4 separate regions of the Homo sapiens genome follow, and all the other regions are linked to region 1. Evidence: promoter capture Hi-C in 16 types of primary human blood cells and fetal thymus (Javierre and others, 2016). All regions are on one chromosome and are shown on one strand. The core of a region is centred on a gene start or on the middle of the fragment in contact, and the rest is flanking DNA. Distances in the headings are between cores, read along the strand shown.

Evidence for each region. The method cuts DNA at HindIII sites, captures the fragments that hold promoters and counts their contacts. A CHiCAGO score of 5 or more calls a contact.
Region 2: a fragment that was not itself captured here is called in contact with the fragment with the promoter of JARID2 in region 1 in 1 of 17 cell types (fetal thymus); the score reaches 6.8 in fetal thymus.
Region 3: a fragment that was not itself captured here is called in contact with the fragment with the promoter of JARID2 in region 1 in 7 of 17 cell types (megakaryocytes, M2 macrophages, erythroblasts and 4 more); the score reaches 9.6 in megakaryocytes.
Region 4: a fragment that was not itself captured here is called in contact with the fragment with the promoter of JARID2 in region 1 in 6 of 17 cell types (activated CD4 T cells, megakaryocytes, fetal thymus and 3 more); the score reaches 8.9 in activated CD4 T cells.

The regions. Positions count from the first base shown.
Region 1 is chr6:15,244,664-15,247,765 of GRCh38, reverse strand. It overlaps JARID2 (jumonji and AT-rich interaction domain containing 2), which reads right to left and starts at 1,697. Exons shown (of 18, transcript NM_004973.4): 1 at 1,182-1,697. The coding sequence starts at 1,226. It overlaps JARID2-DT (JARID2 divergent transcript), which reads left to right and starts at 2,392. Exons shown (of 1, transcript NR_187237.1): 1 at 2,392-3,102. RefSeq lists enhancers at 1,620-1,719, 1,830-1,879, 3,069-3,102 and silencers at 2,490-2,749, 2,760-3,069. The HindIII fragment of the contact is 5,356 bases long and covers 1-3,102 here.
Region 2 is chr6:14,671,705-14,674,806 of GRCh38, reverse strand. All of the region lies in intron 1 of LOC101928354 (a long non-coding RNA gene), which reads left to right. Among named protein-coding and RNA genes, the nearest start is that of LINC01108, 390 kb to the right of the region's middle. The HindIII fragment of the contact is 5,373 bases long and covers 1-3,102 here.
Region 3 is chr6:14,709,748-14,712,849 of GRCh38, reverse strand. The region is part of intron 1 of LOC101928354 (a long non-coding RNA gene); the gene reads left to right. Among named protein-coding and RNA genes, the nearest start is that of LINC01108, 430 kb to the right of the region's middle. The HindIII fragment of the contact is 644 bases long and covers 1,214-1,857 here.
Region 4 is chr6:14,727,360-14,730,461 of GRCh38, reverse strand. No RefSeq gene overlaps it. Among named protein-coding and RNA genes, the nearest start is that of LINC01108, 440 kb to the right of the region's middle. RefSeq lists an enhancer at 1-35. The HindIII fragment of the contact is 600 bases long and covers 1,333-1,932 here.

The DNA.
Region 1 (3,102 bases), core at 448-2,947:
AGTTGACGTGTCTAGATAAGGATCAGCTCTCTTGAAGAGGCATTCAGCTTTTCCATTAAATATATTTTTTTACAAAACCAGTGCCCCGAAGGTCATCTCTCATTACACACACCACAATGATCAAAAAGGGAAAATATTAACACCAATTTGTCTACCCAACTTAAATAAACTTTCCTCTTACGTTGCATTATTCCTAAGGTATGTTCATTTGGCCTTTTTTGAAAAAAAAAAAGAGTTATTTAATTTAAAGCATGCAGCTAATCACAGATCACTCGAGTGCATATTTGGTTAATCCCTCGGTCCCCCTTTCCTCCCTCCCCTCAAACTTAAAAAAAAAAAAAAGCCACCACACACAAAACAAAAACACTCCCCATGCCAATCAAAACGTAGCTGTACTATGCACAAAACAAATTTAACTATTCCAAGCCATTTAAATCTAGGAATAATCACCCAATTTCAGAAGCCCAGTTAACAGGGAGAAATTATTTGTAGTTACTTACATATGCATTCACGTACACACTTAAAAACATTAGCCATAGTGTGTGTCCTTTTCCCCTACAACTGGAAACCATGAATTTTTTAAACAAAACCAGCCTCATTATTAAAGTCAATCCCAACAAATGCATTCGCTGTAACATGATTCCCAACTGGTTTATGTTGCAAACCAGATAAGCCAAAACGACCACAGACATTAAATTTGATGTGCCAGTGCAAAGAGAAGATCGCCATAATCGGACCCTCGATCGCAACTTAAAGGGCTTCCAACACACATGCGTTACACGATTTTTCCAAATAACATTAATAATAATAACACAGGCTCATTTGCATGCAAAGTGCAATACGGGGCCAAATCCGCTTGAGAATGCAGTTTAGTTACATTACCGCAGCCACCCCCCACCTCAAGCTCCACCAAAATCCCTTGCCTTTCATCTAAAAGTAGATTATGGTTGTGTCATTCGAGGTCAATTTATTCACTTGAGGTATCTCTACACCAGTCTGTTTTTTCAACCAAACTAGGCAGACACCACTTTGCTTGAAAAGCCCTCTTTCAGAAAAAAAAGAAACAGCCTTATCGGACGCTGTGTTTAAAACCCTTCAGAGGCAGAATTATCTATAAACTTGACATTCACAGCCATTGCTTAAAACTGCAAGTCAAAGGATGTGTTGTTAGGAGCACTTACGTATTTCTTCTGAATGATATTCCTCTTGGGTCTTTCCTTGCTCATTCTGAGATCCAAATGCTGATTGCAAAAGGGGACAATTGCTTCATGAATTTAAAGCCGTCAGAAATTTGCAAAAAAATATCCTGGTGGTTTTTATTGTTGTTGGTGGTGGTTGATCTTGTAATCCGACTTTTCTTCCTCTTCCCCCAAAGCCAGATTCGCCTTGAAATAAATCCGAAATTGGGAAGGAAAAAAAAAGAGCCAAAGACGAACGAAGCAAACAAAAAAAAATTCACTTTAGTAAAACACTCATAATGGAAAATTTCCCCCGAAACACATACACACACACACAAAAAAAAACCGACGCCCTTCACTCCCCCCCCTTTTTCCTCCAAAAACTACATCAGCGAAACGTGAAGGTCCTTAGTGTCTGATCCGTAGTTACATCTTGGAAAAGAAAAGGGAAAGATAAATAAAAAATGTTGGAAGTCACGTTTGTGCTGCAGCAGCAGTGCGAGCAGAAGAGTCAACTCCAGCGGCGGCGGCGGCGGCGGCGGCAGCACCACAGCGAGGGCTCGCCGAGTCTCTTTTTTCCAAGCCCCCTAACCAATGAGAGAGAGGCTATCCAGCCCAACTTTAAATGGACTCTGCTTTTATACAAGTTAGGGCTCCTCGGATAATTCCCCGCCGGGCGCCAGCCGAAAACTCCCACCGCTCAGCCGCCAGGCGCCCGCTTAGCCTGGTGCCGACCGCCCCTGGCCCAGTCCAGGGCACCCCCGCAGCCTGGCCAACCAGACACCCGAGCGACCTCGACGAACCCCTCCCAGGCAAGCCCTCGGGCGTCGCTCCCACGCCGAGCCCAGGCGTGGAATTGAGAGAGGCTCCCTAGCTCAATGCATGGCACGCTCCGTCGCTCCACCTCACCCCCTTTCCCCTGCCTGCCGCTCACCCCACGGCCGCCCCACGCCAGCCCCCGCCACTGCCTTCGCGTCTACCTGCAGCCGGGCTGCTGGGTAGGAGTGCCCCAGGACGCCCGGCCCCGGGGAGAGCCGCCTATTCCCGGGGCACCTTAGAATGGTCCCCTTGATCTTCTGGAAGTTGTAGTCCCCCGACTACAAAATGGCTATGGCCACGGAAGCTGGGAACTACAATTCCCAGCCTGCCCCGCAAAGCCTGTCACTCAACTCCCCTCCCTCCTCCTCGCCCCCTCCCCCTCACTGGCCGTGCCAACAAACGCTTGGACGTGTCCCGCGTGCGACACTGCTAGAGGCTGGCTCGGGATTGGCCCGCGGAGCGTGTGGTCCGCGAGCGAGGAACTCCCCACGCCGGCCCTCCTCCGCCCCCCGGGCCCCGGCCCCCCTCCCCTGGCGGCCGCCAGCCCCCTCCCCGCGCGCCCCGCCCCCACCCGCGGCGCGAACCGCCTGTGGAATCGAGGAATCGCGCGCGTGCGGCCCGGAGCCGCGGGGGAGGGACGCGAGGCTTCCCCGGGGAAGGCCTCGGAGCGTGGCGGTGAGGGGGGCGGTGTCAGGGAGGGGTTGGAGCCCGTCCTAAGGAAAACTGGGCCACGCACCAAGAGGAATCCTCGGTGCGAACTAGTTGATCGGCGGCGCCTGCTGCTTGTGCCGTGCAGCCGGTGTCACCTCAGGACAGCGCCTCGCGTCTGTGTACAGAGCGTGCTGCGGGCGCCTAGGGTAGTCCGAGGTCACCCCTCTCCGCGCCCCGCAGTCGCGCACGCCCCCACGCGCGGGGTGGGCGGTGGCCGGGGGTCGCCGAGTGGAAAGGCCACGCCCCCCCACGCCCGGGCTCGGCACGCTGCCCCTGGGTCGCGAACGCGCCTCCGCTCGACCCGCTTGGAGGACGTCGCTGGTGGCCCAGGAGTGAAGCCCCGGCGGCTGCCTCCTGAGAAAAGATAGCCGTGTTTAAAGAGACTGAACGGGAT
Region 2 (3,102 bases), core at 188-2,687, 570 kb after region 1:
AAGGAAGGACGGTTTGGAGGGGGAGGAAGTTAACTCTCTGAAGTAATGAGCAAGCCAAGAGGTAGGGAATCTCAGAGGATGCTGTGCTAAGTTCAGTCACCAGGAAGCAGAACCCAAATGTGTCAACCCTGCCTGAGGCAAAAACCTTTCCAGCTATGTTCTCCTTACGTGCTTCTTGCCAAGGCAGGAAACCAGGGTCTGGGTGCGGGTGGGCTGGGTGTGCAGGTGCAAGCACTTGAGAGGCTGCAGCTGGTGAGGAAAGAGAGTCCTGGAGCCCCAGGTAGGTCCTTACATCCTGAGGATGATGCAAGAAGTAGTGAGTATGGGTACGAATGAATTTTCTGTTACTTAGAATACCTGAAACGGGGTAATTTATAAAGAAAAGGAATTTATTTCTTACAGTGATGGAGGCTGAGAAGTCCCAGGTTGAGAAGCTGCAGCTGGTGAGGGCCTTCTTGTTTGTGAGGCCTCTGCAGAGCGTGGACAGGCAAGGGATGCTCTGCAGGGCATCATGTGGCAGAGGCTGAGTGTGCTAATGGGCTCGCTCAGGTCTCTCTTCCTCTTGTAATAGAGTCAGCAGTTTCCTTCCCATGATAACCCATTAATCCATTAACCCATTAATCTACAAATGGATTAATCCATTCCTGAGGGCACAATTCTTCATAATCCAATCACCCCCTAAAGGCCCCACCTTTCAATACTGCCACATTGGGGGCTAAGTTTCCAACATATGAAATCTGGAGGACACAGTCAGACCACAGCATTGTGTCTGCATGTGCCCTGCCAGGCCTTGGGCAGTGGCAGGTCAAGGAGGGCTCTTTTAAAAATGAAAATAGACTTTTATGATTCTTCTGTTAAAAAACCTTTTGCTGCTCCTATGTTTGTGCCCAAGAGTAGGATTGGAAAGTGACAGCAAAGGGGTACAGGGTTTCTTTTGGGGCAGTGAAAAGATTCTAAAATTGATTTTGGTGAGAAATGAAGAAAAAAGGCCATTGAACTGAATTCTATCTCAATAAAGTTTTAAAAAAGAAAGAAAAATGCCTTGCTGGTTCGTCATTACCAACAGGATATAGGCCCTTCTGGAATTGATTTCTACCAGCCTCTCTGCTCTGATCATCTGCAGGGGTCTTTTTGCCCAGTGCCTCTTTACCTCCAGCCACAGGGAACTATTATACCTTTAGTCTCCTATCTGCATCAGGTGTCAGGCCTCTGGGCCAGGGTACCTGCAGTTCCCTCTTCTTTACCTGGCAGAATCCTAGCTCTGGTCCTGCTAGCGGAGCACAGTTAAGCTCCACTACCATTTCTTTGGCAAAGCCTTCCCTGACATTTGTTGCTCCTCACATTCTTGATTCATTTAGCTGTCATTCTCTGCTGCTGAGCTACAGGCAACTTGAGGGCAGGGACTAGGTAGCTTTAGACTTTTTCTCCAATGACATTCCAAAGGCTGTGTGGGTTATGAGGGGGAGTCATCCCAGCAGGAAGTAGTCTGCGTTGCTGACATCATTTAGGATTGCCTTCATACAGTGATCATAAAAAGCATACTGACACTTAGTGTCATCCTGGTGTTTACATTTTCTACAATGTGCCCTCTTGTTGCTTTGCACCCAAGGCTGACCACTCTCACCGTCCTTGCTTGGTACCTATTTAGTGCCAGACCTTGCACATAGTAGCTACTTTATAAATAAGCCAGGGTGGCTACGTTCAGCAGGGGCCAGGCAAAGGCTGGGAAGGGGGTCTTGTTCTAGGGGAAGAAGCAGCCAAAACTGAGGAACACTTAGACCATGCAAGAGAGAGAAAGACTCAGGGCCTTGGTAGGGCTAAGGCAAGGAAAAGGGGACTCGAGAGAGCTGACTGATTTGATGGAGTATTTACCAGGGTCCAGAAGGAGAAGTCAGATGAAAATGTATATGGTGATGTCTTAGATGTGGCTGCTACAATAAATTATCACAGACTGGGTGCCTTAAACAACAAACATTTATTGCCCACTGGAGGCTGGGAAGTCCAAGATCAAGGTGCTGGTGGGTCTGGTGTCTGGTGATGGCTCACTTCCTGGTTTGGAGAGGGTGTCTTCTTGCTGTGTCCTCATGTGGAGGAGAGCAGAGAGTGAGATCACGCTCTCCTGTTTCTTCTTATAAATAACACTAACCCCATTCACAAGGGCTTCATCCCCATGACCTAATTACCTCCCAAAGCCTCCATCTCCTCAAATCAGGGCATTAGAGATTTAGATTTCAGCATATGAATTTCAGGGGGACACAAACATTCACTTCATAGCAGATGACTATTCCTATAAAAAATTTTCCCCGTGTGCCTTTTCTCTAACCACTTTCCCTGTAGATCTGTCCCTGTGTTTTCACTGGTTTTCCATACTGAGAGCTTTGTCTTTCTCATCAGCTACAAAAGGCTCATGTTGGCTACGATGCTGTCTCTAGGGCCTCTAAGAAAAGCAACTGGTTGACTTTTTATAACCCTTAATTACTGAGCACCTACCATGTTTCAGGTAGAGTGCTATGCTAGGGACCTACTGTATATCAGACATAGAACTGGGCACTTTGCATGCATTATCTCATCCCATCTGTTAATAAAACCTAAGAGTATGTTAGCTAGAGTAAGTAACGTTAGCCACTGTAACAAACAACCCCCAAATCTCAGTGGGTTAACACAATGTGATTATCTTTTATTCATATCACAGCCCAGTGCAGCTTGTGTATGTGTGTGTGTGAGTGTGGGTTGGGCTGGGAGGCTCTTCTCTTTGCAGTTTTTCAGAGACTCAGAATCCTTTCTCTCCTGTGGGGCTCTTTACCTTTATTCTCCTGGCTGCATCAGGTGTCAGGCCTCTGGGCCAGGGTGCCTGCAGTTCCCTCTTCTTTACCTAGCAGAATCTTAGCTCTGGTCCTGCTAGTGGAGCACAGTTAAGCTCCACTACCAGAGTCCTCTGCTGGTTAATGGGGAAGAGACAACATGTGAGAGACTGTGGGAAGGGTTTTGGAGGTCAGGCTTGGAAGTGGCATTTAACTCTCCTGTCCATATTCCCTTAGCCAGAGCTCACACACCAGGCACTGCAGGGGATACTCAGGAGTGTTTAGCTGAGTGCCCTGCAAG
Region 3 (3,102 bases), core at 286-2,785, 530 kb after region 1:
CAACTCTCCAGGTGCTAAACCTTCTCATGGAGAAGAACAAACTTGACTGCTAGCCCATTCTGCAGCAGAATTCTGAGAGCTAGGGCAGGCTCTGTTACAGGTCAGGAGAATTGGCCTGATTAGAAACCATTTGAGGTAGGGAATGGGGGCTCACACCTGAATCCCAGCACTTTGGGACACTGAGGCCAGGAGTTGGAGACCAGCCTGGTCAATACATGAGACCCTGTCTCTACAAAAAAAAAAAAAAAAAAAAAAAAAAAAAAAATTTTTAGTACTCCGAATAAATGTATCTGTAAAAGGAAAGCCACAGTAATTCAGAGTCATGGTTTATATACCTATTTCACATAAGATGCCACTGTATCTTCTCCTACAATTAATAAGTTGTCTTTTTAGTACAATTCAGGTCTCTTTGCTTTTGGGTCTTAGAAGCCTAATTTTCTAGGCTCTGGCTATCTTTGACTACTAATAATATCATAAAACTATGATAATGATAATAACTCTTATTTATAAGAGTTGATATCAGGCACTGGTGTAAGGGCTTTCCTTACGTTACTGAATCTAATCCGTACATAAGATCAGTGTAGTCAGCATGATTAGTATCATCTCTAGGTTACACATGAGGGAATCAGGGCTTAGAACATCTGAGAAAATCCAGTGACGATAGAGTTTGAATTCAAATTGACATCATTCTGATTCCAGAGCTGATTCTTAGCCATGTCATATTCTAAGTGACGTTGAGATGACACGCATGATCTCATTCAATCATGTGGCTTTAAAATCCATCTATATGATGGGTGAGCCTCAAATTTATATCTCTAACTTAAACCCTCCCCAGGCTTGGGGATGCAACTGCCTGCTGTCATTGTCAGTCCAATTTCTTTCTTTCTTTTTTTTGAGATGGAGTCCCACTCTGTCACCCAGGCTGGAGTGTAGTGGCACGATCTTGGCTCACTGCAACCTCTGCCTCCTGGGCTCAAGCAATTCTTCCACCTCAGCCTCCTGAGTAGCTGGGACTACAGGTGTCTGCCACACCCAGATAATTTTTGTATTTTTAATAGAGGTGGGGTTTCACCATGTTGGCCAGGCTGGACTCAAACTCCTGACTTCAGGTGACCCACCCGCCTCAGCCTCCCAAAGTGCTGGGATTACAGGCGCCCAGCCCCTCAGTTGAATTTCTAACAGGCACCTCACACCTAAGCTGACCTAACAAGCTTGTTCTTGCCCCCTTGCTCTCCCTGCTCCCTCAGTAAATTTGTCTCCATTCAGTTACTCAGGCCTCGATGAAGGAGTCACCCTTGACTCCTCTCTTTCACAGCTCACATGGACACCATCAGCAAATCCAGTGGGATGCCTGTATTCAGAATCCATCCACTCCTTCCCTCCTCCACTGTTGCTGCTCCTCTACTGTCTGTTTTCAACACAGATGTCAGAGTGAGTCAGCTTTTGTCACTTCCTTGCTCAAAATCTTATCTCATTCAGAGAGTTCCAGTTAGTAAGTTATCATCTTTCAGCTCCAAAGCCTTCCTTCAATACTTGATTCTATGCTGGGCCCCTGAACACTGCATTTCTCCTTTGTTGGGCTCCTTGTTGCACTCAGCCAGTAGGGGTTGCTAGAGAGGCTCCTACTCTTTCCCATGGGTATCCTGTCTGCCTGTGGCTCCTGTGTGCAGCACCCCAGTACTGCTGCTTCATCTTGGCAGCAGCAGTTTCTTCCTGTAGCAGCTGTTCAATCTACGTTGCAATTTTTCCTACACTCAAGAACCAGACTCATTGTGCCTTTTTAGGGCCACAGCACTGACTGCCATTGCCCCATCTTTGAGGTTTGGGTTCTAGCCCCATGGGACTGTTTTCTAAGCTTCTAAATTTTAATTATCCGACAGCCCCCTTTTTCTTCTGCCAGCCCCAGGGGTGGAGCTTCCTGAAGTTGTTATACGAAAGACACCTTAGAGTTGTCTTTTTACTCTTTCAGTTACCTGGTTAAGACTTTATTCCTAGAAAATTATTCTTTATATTAAATTAGCCGTGTTAAAATAACTGGTGTGGCTTCTGTCTCCTGGTTAGGCCCTGACTGATGTGCTGAGTTAAAGGTGAAGTCCTTAAAATGGTTTGCAAGGTTGCAAGCGATCTGGCTTCCGGCCACCTCTCCTGTCTTAGCTCCTTCCACTGTCACCGTCATTCCTCGCTCCTTTTGGCCCCTTGCTGTTCTGTAAACACACCAATCCCTCTCCTGCCTCACAGTCTTGGCCCTTTCTGATCCCTTTGCCTGAAAAACCCTGCCCTGCAATTCTACATGGCCTCTCTTTCCCCTGCTTGGGTCTTCCTGAGATGTTACCTCTTCAGTGAGACCTTCCCTGACCGCACCACATAATCCACATCCCCCACTCCCCCCACCCCTGCCTGGATGATTTCTGTCCTTCTTAATCTGCCTTGCTTTTTCCATAGCACCTATCACCATCTGATAGTCTGTTTATTCATACTTGATTATTTGTTAATTCCTGTGTCCCCCTAACTAGCAAATAAACACCCCAACAAGGCAGAACTTTTCCTACTTTAGTGATTGCTACATCCCAGACTTTATAACAGTGTCTGGCGCATATAAATGCTTGAAAAGTATTTGTTGAGTGAATAGTAAAATTGAAGTTCTGGACTGTCAGGATTAAGACTGTCCTAGGCCCGGTGCTAGAGGGAGAATCCTAAAGAGGACGCTGGCCTTAGAGGAAAATGGTAATCATGCTTCCCACACCACATGTCAGGGAGAGCAGATGGCAGTGTCAGCTCACAGTTCGCATGAGTTTGGGGTGTACTTTTGAAGACTGAGTAATGTCTTTTCTCTCCCTTCTCCAAATTGCTATTGTTAGACCTGAAAAAGCCTGTAATAAAATTTGGAAGCTACTGAGTTTATGACATCTCAACTTTACCCTCCATTTCCACCCCAAATGGCTTTTGAACTGACACTGAATTGCTGCCTTATTAAATACCATCCTGAGAACTTTACAGAACATTTTAAGTGATGCCGAGCTCCCATGAGCTTCAATCATAATGGAAGAGCCTGGGACCGTTGGTTGTCAGCTTTTTCTTGTCATCTACATGGGGACTGTCTGT
Region 4 (3,102 bases), core at 383-2,882, 520 kb after region 1:
CAAATTTCCTAGACATTTCCATTATACTTCCTCTTCCTGATTATCTTGAGTGGGAAATCTCCATGAGTTCTTAGTAGAAGGCAGAAGTATACAGTGGACCTGGGCCTTCATTAGAAACCATGAGACTTCAAATGAGAGCCTGAATTATTCCTTTATGTTTTCATTTATGTGAGAAAATAAGGGATATTGTTGACTTTTTATGAGATTAAGTTACCCAGTTATCCATCCTATTATTATAAGTTTTAGTGTTTGCAAAGAGATTTCTGATCGTTTTTATTAGTCTCTTTGTAATAGCTTCAGGGACTTTTTGACAAAAGAGAGAACCATTTTAAGCAGTAGAAATGTAGGCTTACAGAGGTCAAATGGTTAATTTGAGATTGCCCAGCAAAACAAAACAATACGAAAAAGAACACCTGAAGAAAAATCAAGATTCATACTCTGGGCTGTAATTACCATTCTGTAGGTTTCCGGAAGCTCATATAGTCACATTACATTTTGTTCATGTCGTTAGAAATCATTTGCAGTTCAACACTTAGATTCCCTCCTGTGTTTGATTTGCAAGGTCTTGGAAGTTAACTTGAACTCAAGGATTTGTCTACCTAAGAGAGGCAAATAGAAAAACCCCTAAAGCCACCTGACCTGATTCTTCTTTGTTAAGACCAGCTCAGAATAGAGTGAAATAAGCAAGCTGCAGAAAGACAATGCTACGTTGAGTTCCACTTCCTCTTGATAAATTCAGAACAGCCAGTCCATCTTAAGGGTGGATGTTTTTAGCAGCAGGGAGTGGTAGTTGGATGGAGGCAAGCGGATGGAAAGGAGGAGAGAGGAGAAGAGAGACAAACTCAGGTGCCCCAGAAAAGTCCACTTTCTCCGTCCCCATTCAGGCCACCTTCATCTTCCCCCACCCTCTGCTGGCCTTTCTGGGGGCTCAGGTTTTGAGCTGACTGAGCCCTCAGCGGGAGACCACAACGCATTTTCAGATGAAAGGACAACCCTGAAGGTACCTATTACATGTCTGTGAGCAGAGAAACAAAGGCCCGGCTGCTGACACCCTCCCACTAACTTGAGTTTTAATGGTAGGTTTGATTTCCTCACGCTTAGCTGAAAGAAAGGGAAAAAACTAAGCGGAAAGAACGAGGGTGTGGGTATCTGTGGTGGTGGGGAAACGACAGCTGTTGTATTCATGGTTAATCAGGTGTGTCTGGCTTTGTGTCGCATCTGTCTGCTACTGTTGCCAGGCCACATGTGAAAGGGAACCGAGGGGAAGGGGCCATTCATGTTCAAAGCCAGTAGCACTGACCTCTGCCTCGTTCTCTTCAGGGTAGGAAAGCTTGTCTATTTAACTTTCCCTATTATAGGAAGCTGTAATTCTACTCTATTAGCCCACCCTAACCATTTTGGCCTGACAAATGCAAGCTGCATCCAGAATGCCATAAATCTGCATGGGAAGGAGTCCTCCTCCCTCCTTCCCATTTTTTTCCTTTGGGGTTCGGTTCGATTTGTCAAACAAGAGAAAACCAGCAAGAGAGAGAAAAATGAGAACTCAGGGCATCTTGGTTCACCTTCCATCTTAAATGGGCCTAGGGACCGAGATGGGGGCTGGGAGGCACCCCAAGGTCAAGCCTGGAGCACTGGTTCCCCCTCCAGATCTGTTTATCTCACGAGTCCCACATGCGTGTGGTGATTGCGTCAGACCTTAGTCATCTCCCTGGCACCAAATCCTCCTCCTGGATCCTTGATCCCCCTCCTCCTTCTCTGCCCACATACAGAGGGACCATGATGGAGGAGGGGAGGCTTCTGGCTTCTCCTGGAGCCAGGCCTGTGTTCTAGATATTGCTGGCCCAGGCCTGCCAGGCACGACTCTCCTCTCTGGCATATGGAGAAACAGCTGAAATGGAAACAACCCCCAATGCACCACATTGCACTAAAGCTTAGCGTCAGAGTTCAAAGGACTACTCCAATTGGAGATCAAACTGATCCCTCCCACTGTGGCCTTTTTTGAGGGGGTCCATCACAACCCTTCGGGGGTGCTTTTCTCCAGCACTTCCGCTTCAGGGCCAGCCCTTGTGTTTCTTGGAGTAAATGATTGCTGTCAGCATTTCCAACACCATGGAGTTCTGGCTCCAACTTTGGCTTCCTGGAGAATGGGCCATCATAGACTTATTACAGGGTTCAGAAGAGCTTGCCATCTGCAATCTATTTTAGTTGTCACTGCCTCTTAAAATAGGCACTAACTTTTATCCCATCACATTAATTCCTCTCATGTTGAGGCTAGAGTCGAGCTTTTGGGGTGTGTGTATGCACGTAACTATCTTTTTAAAATCAGAAGGGTTATTTTCCTAAGACATGGGTTATCAGCAGCACAGCTGAGTTTCCTCTTTCTACTGGCCTGTGCTGATGAAGTTGGTTGCGTTATTGACCTGCAGCTTTGGGGTCAGAATGCTTTTGGTTCCCTGATGTAGAAGGACATTGCAAAACTATCCCAGTGCCCTGTGCACTGTCTTTCTCTCTCTGATACTCCCCAGATCTCCAAATTTTAATGGTGTCAATAGACATAACTCATGCTCCTGCTAGAAGCCTAGCACCCTGCTAGGCTCTGTGAGGACTTTGAGAATTTGTCATCTTGTGAGACGCCATGAATAATGCAAGAAATAGCAAAACAGGTCTGAAAATGAAGTCTAACTAAAAAGTGTACAAATCCTAAGTGTACAGCTCTATGAATTATTACTAAGTGAATATGCTCACGTAACCATCACCTAGATTAAGAAACAGAACATTACCGCCACTGGAAACTTCTTAAAGTTCTACCTAGGTGGACACCTTGTTATATCTAAAACAATTCTACAACGTGATTGGGAGTGAGATTTAGTTCTTAATTATGTGGCTATGGAAATGTAGATTTTGAAAGGTTCCCATTGGCTGGAAGAGATTTGCCCATGGGAAGATTTTGAGTATGCCCTGGGCTGGCCTGCTGAAGTTGAACTTTAGAGAACCCGGGCGGGCTGGCTGTGCAATGCTCTTGGCTCCAGAGAAGGACATGCAAGATTCTGGCATCCTTTTTAAAAAAATTGTGGTAAAATATACATAACATAAAATTAATCA